2 separate regions of the Homo sapiens genome follow, and region 2 is linked to region 1. Evidence: promoter capture Hi-C in 16 types of primary human blood cells and fetal thymus (Javierre and others, 2016). All regions are on one chromosome and are shown on one strand. The core of a region is centred on a gene start or on the middle of the fragment in contact, and the rest is flanking DNA. Distances in the headings are between cores, read along the strand shown.

The links. The method cuts DNA at HindIII sites, captures the fragments that hold promoters and counts their contacts. A CHiCAGO score of 5 or more calls a contact.
Region 2: a fragment that was not itself captured here is called in contact with the fragment with the promoter of IRAK1BP1 in region 1 in 4 of 17 cell types (naive B cells, activated CD4 T cells, non-activated CD4 T cells and 1 more); the score reaches 6.6 in naive B cells.

What each region holds. Positions count from the first base shown.
Region 1 is chr6:78,865,298-78,869,358 of GRCh38, reverse strand. It overlaps IRAK1BP1 (interleukin 1 receptor associated kinase 1 binding protein 1), which reads right to left and starts at 1,808. Exons shown (of 4, transcript NM_001010844.4): 1 at 1,468-1,808. The coding sequence starts at 1,782. LOC107986613 (a long non-coding RNA gene) reads left to right here and starts at 1,869. Exons shown (of 2, transcript XR_001744210.2): 1 at 1,869-1,971. RefSeq lists enhancers at 1,021-1,621, 1,454-1,773, 1,804-1,913. The HindIII fragment of the contact is 7,957 bases long and covers 1-4,061 here.
Region 2 is chr6:79,235,274-79,239,965 of GRCh38, reverse strand. HMGN3-AS1 (HMGN3 antisense RNA 1) reads right to left here. Exons shown (of 2, transcript NR_040671.1): 2 at 3,166-4,692. Among named protein-coding and RNA genes, the nearest start is that of HMGN3, 2.9 kb to the right of the region's middle. The HindIII fragment of the contact is 1,879 bases long and covers 1,286-3,164 here.

The DNA of each region.
Region 1 (4,061 bases), core at 559-3,058:
TACTAGAGATTGGGTTTTGCCATGTTGGCCAGGCTGGTCTCGAACTCCTGGCCTCAAGTGATCCACCTGCCTTGGCCTCCCAAAGTGTTGGCATTACAGGCATGAGCCACCATGCCCAGCTTATGTTGTTTTATATATTAGAGACCTGTGAGCTCTTTTTATTTTATGTAAATAACTTAAAAACTTGTTAACATTATTCAAACGACTACAGCACTAGTAGCAGTTTTTTAAAACTATTTTTCTACATATTAAACCCACTTTACTCACATTATTTATAATTATCTGTATTTTTCTAAATTGTAAAATCATTTGAAGAAATCTTGTCCAAATGACTTTGTAATAACTTGTATGTTTGTATTATAAATGCAATTCAAATATCTTTTCTTGTTAAAAATAAGGACTTGCTTTTTCGGGGTATGGAATTTCTTGCAATAGACTGGAAGTAACAATGCCTGCACTTTTACCAACTCAATGTCATCCTGGATAAGTTACATCTCTGGCCTTTGGGGTCCTACTCTATAAAATGAGAAAACTGAAATCGTTGATCCCTATGATTTCTAATTTTCTTTCATTCTAATTATCGGCAGAATTGGAAGCAACTTACATTCTGGTTTCAGGAATACATGAGTTCAAATATTGCTCTACCTAAAGTTCAGAGCATTGTTTAACCTCTTTAAATTTGGAAAACAGGGATATTAAAACATGCCTAACAGTGCTATTGTGTGGATTAAATGATGGCTTCATTTTTTTTCTTGCCTTAGGAGTAGGCTTAAGGTAAGATTTGTTTAGTGATTTGTCTCATGGACATCTCCGTTAAGTAAGTAGAAGTATTTCGTATATGTGGTATCCACAATACTGGCTTGATTTTTTCTTTTAAGTTAAACCTAAGAAGGCCGAAGAAATTTTGGGGGAATCACTATAAAATGAAAATCATTATAAAATGAAAATGGACGCAACTTCTTCCCCACTTCCCAACGTTACTGTTTGCGGAACATACTCAAGAACCATTCCATGCAAAGTTTTACATGATCGGAAGGAAGCAGGTCGTGCTCTTCACTTGCCAATTCCATGGTGCGGAATAAAAACAAAACAAAACAAAATATTTAGTGTCCAGCACTCCACGTGGGCAAGTATTTACAACTAACATTTCAAGTTTTAACATTTCATCACTTTAAATTTAAAAACAAAATCACTGAAGCAAATATCCCCAGATAAAAACCTACCCAATTTGCATTCTTTTATTTTTAATTTGCCTGAGGCCAATAATTACCTTCGTCTAGGAGAAGAATGGGTCAAATATTCACTCTGCCAGGTCCTGGCGTCCCGGAGTACCTTTGCAACAAACGCGTCCTAAACGCTCCAGACCCTCCACATCTCCCTTCCCGCTAGGGGGGCCTGTGGGGCCCGACCATCTGCCAACCCTTTTGTGTCTTCCGGCTCTTATTTCCTCCCCCGCGGAGATCTCACCTGCACGCCCTGCTGCTGGAGGCTCTGCGTGATGTAATCTAGACGGCGACAAACGCTCTTTTTGGCCTCGGCTGCCGCCTCCTTGGTGCTGCTCACTCGCACCACCACCTGCGCCCGGTCAGGGCCCGCAGACACTTCTGAGGTGCCGCTTACTTGCACCTCGCGGGTAGCAGTTTGGGCTTGTGTTGAGGAGAGGGGGTGGCGTAAGCCCGGTAGCGTCTCTCTCCCTGAGGCCAGGTTGTTCTCCCGGCTCCGGTCAGCCCAGGGAACCAGTTCCACGAACACTCGGGTCGGAGGGGTCTTTTGCAGAGACATAGCGATGGCAGCTGGGTTTCCATAGTAACTACCGGCCGACGGCGGCCGAAGGGGCCAATGCGCACCAGGGCTTGCCTGTGCACGGCGCAAAGTATGCCGGGATGGGTGTGGAGGCCGCGGAACTTCTGGCGGGCGCAAGCTATATGCCTTGTTGATCTTGCCGCATCTTTTTTACTAGATGTCGGCTGAGTGAGTAGCTACAGTTTTTAACATGTTTAACTTACGGCCTTCAAAAATTGTTAGCGGACTTTCTCTGTTGCCTCCTCAGTGAGCTCTGCCCTTTCTCGCAACTCCTTGTCGTCCCACCGCGCCTCTGCACCTCAGAGGAAGGAGAAGAGTAGCGAGGCCGAGCGGGTTTTTAGATTTCTCTGTGATTACCCCCAGCCTTGTCTTTTCTGACTTTACCGTCCCCGCTTGGGGTACTGCTTTTTGAGGCTCCCTCGGCCACATTTTTGTGGTTCGTGAGAGGTTTCAGTTGAGGTGAACTTTTTGCCCCTGTGATCTTGGACAGTTTATGATTCTTCATATCTCAGTATCATCTTCTCTAAAGCAGGGTTGATAATATTTTTTATATTAGTAATATATAATATATTCTAATATATATAATATATTCTAATATATAATATATTCTAATATATATAATATATTAATATTATCAAAGCAATGTTGATAATATTTTTCACATTTGCTATGTGCTTATAAGGCGCCCATTGTATGTAGAGTGCGTTGCATATGGAAAGCAGAGTGAACATAATGGATGTTTGTAATGATAGCTATGGCTTTGGCATCATTTTTGTGTCTCCCCATTTTTTTCTAAAATCCCTGGAATGGTTCGGGCCTTGAATTCCGACAGAAGAGATTTAGGTGGTAGCAAAGCACGTCCAACATGGAGTTTGCTGGGCCTGCACAACTTGGAGCTTCTCTGTACCCTTTTCTTCAGAGAACTTTTAGAACACAACCCTCAACTTCCCGTCTTCTGGATTCTCTTCCTAGCACTAAGCAATGATCTTTGTAAAAATAGCCCCACTGACTTATACGTCTTTACTATCTGAATTTTATCAAGAGAATCGAGGGGGGAAAAAAGAATTTTGAATAACTAGTTCTAGAAGGACAAGAACTGTTCTTTTAAAAGGACCCTGAAAAGCTGACAGTCCTCTTGTAGTTTCTTCACCATCGTTTTTTCTGTTCTTTTCGATTAGTATAATTCAACTAAATCAATGGTACCCCCCTCCTTTAATTAGGCTCATCACTAGATTAACATAATTTTGTGTATATCCATCTTGTTTATTGTTAGCTGAAAACAATTTTAATTTAAAAACTAACGTTAAGAACTTTCCGTCATAGTCTTTTATTATTTAAGACACCCAAAATAATGTTTCTTAAACTTGGTGAAAAATTCTTTTTCCCTTACGATAAATGCGGAAGAATATAGCCTCCAAAATAAATTATTGAATGAGTGAATGTCATAAACAAAAAGCAACAGGAGTTAAAGTGTAAGTATTTAGTATACGATAAAAGATTTCATATCAGTGGAAAATGATTACATGGTACAGGGATAATTGTAAGCTATATATATAATATACTATAGCTATATAGCTATAGTATATTTTATATATATATATATTTTTTTTTTTTTGAGGCGGAGTCTCGCTCTGTCATTCTGGCTGGAGTGCAGTGGTGCGATCTGGGCTCACTGCAAGCTCCGCCTCCCGGGTTCACGCCATTCTCCTGCCTCAGCTCCCGAGTAGCTGGGACTACATGTGCCCGCCACCACGCCCGGCTAATTTTTTTGTATTTTTAGTAGAGATGGGGTTTCACCGTGTTAGCCAGGATGGTCTCGATCTCCTGACCTCGTGATCCGTCCACCTCGGCCTCCCGAAGTGCTGGGATTACAGGCATGAGCCACGGTGCCTGGCCCATTGTAAGCTATATTTTTAAAGAATTTGTATCTTATATCATACATTGAAAATAATTCAGATGAGACCAAAAAGAAAAATAATTGGAAGAACCTATATGTAAATATAAATATTCTGGGGGATGGGAAGGCTGGCCTTAATCATAATTTCATGTGCAGCAACCATGAAGGAAAAGTTTGAAAAATTGGACTATACTAAAAAAAATCAGTTATATAAAGCAAAATAAAAACAAAGGTGGGGGGGCAAATAAATGGGGAAAAATGTTTGTTAATGTTTATTATGTATAAAGGGCTAAGAGTCTTAATGCTTAGAGAACTGTTGCTAGAAGAAACAAACGTGTCAAAAGAAAAATAATGAACACTG
Region 2 (4,692 bases), core at 976-3,475, 370 kb before region 1:
TTTTTCAGAATGATTCATTCGACTCTCATTTCCCCAAACCAGCATTTTCTTGCTTTCATTGAGAAAAGGAAAATGGTATGATATCTCCGAAAGGCAGGACCATTGAGGGTAGCGACGGGGATGGGGTTACTAAATGTTCCTTACAAGCTCCCAGGGATTCTGAGATTTGAAGGAAATGCAGAAGACACCAAAAATAGGTAGTCAAAATCACTAGCTTAAAGAAAAGGGTGTGGTCCCATTTGAGAGTGTACTGGCACTGACAGTAGTTTACAAGAATGTGCAATTCAGTCGGAGAGCTCTGCAACAACTACTAATTGGTCTTTGGCACCTTGCAGCTTGTGGCTTTTTACCTAAGGGGATGGGATGGAGTCCTTATTTTGCTGTGTCCTCACCATGAACTTTGGGGATTTCCTTCCCTTAACTTTCTCACCTCCTTGAGCCTGGATGGCTCTTGGCACCAGCCATGCTAACAATCTGACAAAAAGGAATGGCTAAACCAATGTATCCCAATCCCTGGTTCTAGCTACTGAGCATATCTAATTCATTCCCAAATAGTCATTTGGGTGCTAAAAAGAGCAAATTAATCACACTCCTGTGAGTTTAAGCAGCAGGAGCAAGAAGGAGAGGTAAATATCACAGAGATTGAACCTGAAAAGTACCAGGGGTGGAAAAACTGTGTAAAACATACCTGGGGTAAAGAATCTGCACAAATATTAAATTTGATTGAAGGTTGGGAAAACAAAGAGTGGGTTCCTTGGAAGGTCACAGAATGCCCTGGTTCCTCTTGCTGTTAATGCAGTTGTGAAGTATGCTTATGCAATCATTGACATTTAGCCTTGAAAGGGTGTGGCTTATGGGCTTTGGCCAAGGTAAGTTCCCTTTGAGGATTTGGGATCAGGGATTTTCATCTCCCAGGGGCCCAAGGAGCTGCCTAGAGGGGCTGCCTGGGAAGAAGAAGACACTTTTCTAGGTATCTGGATGTGTGCAGTTTTTAATCACTCTTCAGGTTCCTTGCAACTACAGAAGAGAAAGAAAGTGAAATAAACAGGTTGTGCCCAGCAAAACTGAGATGGAGCAAAAGCATGAGGTGAGGACTGTGGGGCGAGTTTCACCCACAGAATTACGCTCCTGCTCTGGAAGTATGTTGAGAACTCCACAGGCTTTTATAGATACCTGTCATCAGAATCCAAGTACCGGCATTCAGCAAATATTTGTTGAGAGCAAGGGCCTAGTCTATTAAATACTCTAGTCCCCGAATTATAGTGTAAGCAACACATGAAAAGCTTGTTTGAAAATGCAGATTTCCAAGCCTAGCCATTCAATACCTTGGGACTGGGGCCTAGGGATCTGCACTAATATCAGGCAGCTCATTTGATTTGGGACCGTTAGTTCTTGGACTCTTATTGTTGCTTTGTAAAAACTAACCTTGGTCTCTTCAAAAGTTAGCACCCAATCAAAGTAGAGACTTGACTGGAAAATACAAACAAAATATTCTTTTGCCACCTCTTATTTGTTGTTTTTGATGTTGTTTTGTTACACACCTGAATTCTTCACTGTGTATTTTTTGACCTATTTATGGAAGATTAGTAACTTAATCTGGAATTACAAACTATCAGAAGCAACACAGTATCATTTTCACTTTTCCCCTTTCTTCCTTTCTCCCTCTGTCTGTCTCTCTCTCTCTCTCTCTCTGTGTGTGTGTGTGTGTGTGTGTGTGTCTGTCTGCCAATGTCTCTGTCTCTTTCTTTGCCTTAATGATAGTCATGACTATCATTTGTTTTGCCCTGCTGTCTGAAAAATGCAAAGTAGGTGTACAGTTGCAACTATCAAAAGCAACAATATGTACATTCTGGATCTGACTTCTCCAGTAATTTGTCATTACTTACAGCAAAAGCCTAAGGGACCCTGCCTGTGTCTGCCTGAAAGAGGAAAAGAGGGACAGTTCAAGAAGGAGGTGATCTGCAAGTCATTCTTTCCCTTGAAAACTTCCTCTCAAGCCTGGTGTGGTGGCTTGCACCTATATAACTACTCAGGAGGCTGAGGCAGGAGGATCTCTTCAGCCCAGCAGTCTGACGTGCAGTGAGCTATGATTGTGCCACTGCATGCCAGCCTGGGCAACAGAATGAGATCTTACCTCTAAAAAAAAAATTTTAATATTAAGCATTTTTTTTTCGGAATGTCAAAGATCCACAACATTCATTAGCAGTGGCATTCAATTTTTTTGACCAAGACCATACTAAAAATATATTTCATGTCACAATCCAACATACACACATACATATCTGTGTTGTGTATGTGTTTATATGAGCACATATGGAAAATAGAAACAATTATCTTATGAAACATTACTTACCTTTACCATATATACTCTGCTATTTTCTATGCTTGGCCCTTTCTTTGCTTTTCTTAGCCTTCCCTTCTCCCTTCTCCCTCTCTCTCTCTCTCTCTCTGTGTGTGTGTTTGCGTGTGTGTGTCTGTCAATGTCTCTGTCTCTTTCTTTTCCTTAATGATAGTCATGACACTATAAATGGTTTTGCCCTGCTGATTGAAAAATGTGAAGTAGGTGTACAGTTCCAACAGTTTTGAGTAGGACAAAAGAGGAGAGGAGCTGGAATTGGAAAACAAGTTTGTTCACTATTTTTTTTCTTTCTGTCTCAGTCAGTAACTCTGTTAATTTATCCAGGTCTACCTTAGCTAAGATAGTATATACATCCTACTTTTACTGTCTTAGAGGCTGATATTCCAAAGTAGTAGAAATGCTCAGTGGAATATATTGATAAACAAATGAGTCTGTACTTCTTACCAGCTTGACCTCCTCACTGTCTTCTATGTGACACCCTCATTTCTGCCCAGATGTCTTTATCTCTTAACCTAGAATTCTAGCTACCTGCTAAATCATTCTCTTTGCCTACTCTTCTTACCTCCAGGGCCACCAGTAGAGGTTTGCACTGACTTTCCCAGATCTTGAAGGCTACTAAAGGTACAAGGGAGAACACTTCATTTCCTAGAGTAGTGCTCAGCCAGGTGCAATCTACATCAAAGGAAAGATAAGCAATGCTGTTGTTTTTCAACCGAAGCTGTTATTTTCATAACTTGTAAATGAACTAAAGATTCCAAGAACTCGAGGTCCTCACAATCAGCTTTCTTCATCCAACAAGCAAGCTTCAATTTCATCGTAGCATTTTTATTGTGTGCAGTAAAAACATTCACAATTTTGTTTGCTGTTGATGATCTGAGTGTTTGGTTTTGAAAAAAAATTAACAAAGAAGCCAATTTTGTGAGTTATTTTTCATCACAGAGGAGAAATATTCACCTTAGCACTACCTTTGTTGTGGCACCTTTCCATCTCCATGAAGAAAAATAGCCATCCAGTCCAGATTGCAAGTGCTACTCAGTATCCTTCTCACACATATCTTACTAAAAATGTTTTCACTGACTTTTTCTTTATTTAACTATCAAGTATTTGGCAAATTAATATCTTGAAAGACATCTTCATTATAAATATTATTTTAATGATAAAATTATTAACTTGTAAATTTTTATCTAGCTCTAAGCAATTGGTTTTTATCTTAATTCGTTTCAGTATACTATTGTCATTCACTGAATGCCCAAGAACAGGGAATCTATCAAAAATGATTAAGATCATGTCAAAAGGACACAAGCACTAATTTGAAAGGGTATGCATTGGCTAAAGATGTGGTAATAGGAGCATTAAAAAGGTAATAATAATGATAGCAATACACTGATGCACACCAAATATGTAAAAATCCATGAGTTCATAAAGATGTTCCAAAAAAGAAAGTAATCAACCACCTCTGGAGAGTACTAGATCAATTAATGTATTCTGAAAATTACTAAAGAAAAAGTGAAATATTAAACTTCATTGCTTTTTTAATACATATTTAATACATGATATTTTTAATACATATTTGCAGCCTCTGTGTTACCAAAGTGGATTTGGCCATATTTGTAATGTAAGGCTTCAACACATTTTCCTATGATGTGAGCTTTGCCTGCTAAGATGATTCTGAAACTAACTTTGCCCAATTTTGCTTTTTCTATAATTTCATATGAATGCAATCATTCAGTGTGGTCTTTTGTATTTGACTTCTTTCGTACAGCACTTTGTTTTTGATATTCATCCATGTAGGAAAATTTTTTATTGTTTTTTATTGCTGAATAGTATTCCACTGCATGTGCTCATCACAATTTGCTTACCCATTCACTAGCGCTTTTCCTGCATCTGCTGAAAGGATTGTTTTTCCCCCTTTATTCTATTAATCCTGCCAATTACATTGATTGATTCTCAGATATTAAAAAAGCAGCTTTGCATTCCCAAGATAAGCCCCACAGGTCATGATGTATTGTCCCTTTAAATGTTGTTGAGTTTCATTTACTAAAATTTTGTTCACGACTTTTGTGTCTATGTTTATGAGTGATATTGGTCTGTAACTCTCTTTTGAAGTCTTTCACTGGTTTTGGTATCAGAGTAAATCTGGTCTCATAAAATGAATTCAGAAATATTTTTGCAATGCTCATTTTATGCCTTGCAGAACTTTGAGAAATATTACGCATAAAGTGTAACATGACGGGTGTCATTCAAATATATGTCTCAAATATAAAATAATCAGTTTTTGCCTTGTTCTTTCTTTTCCTAATTTCCGTAACAAACATGTCCTATTCGTCTTCACA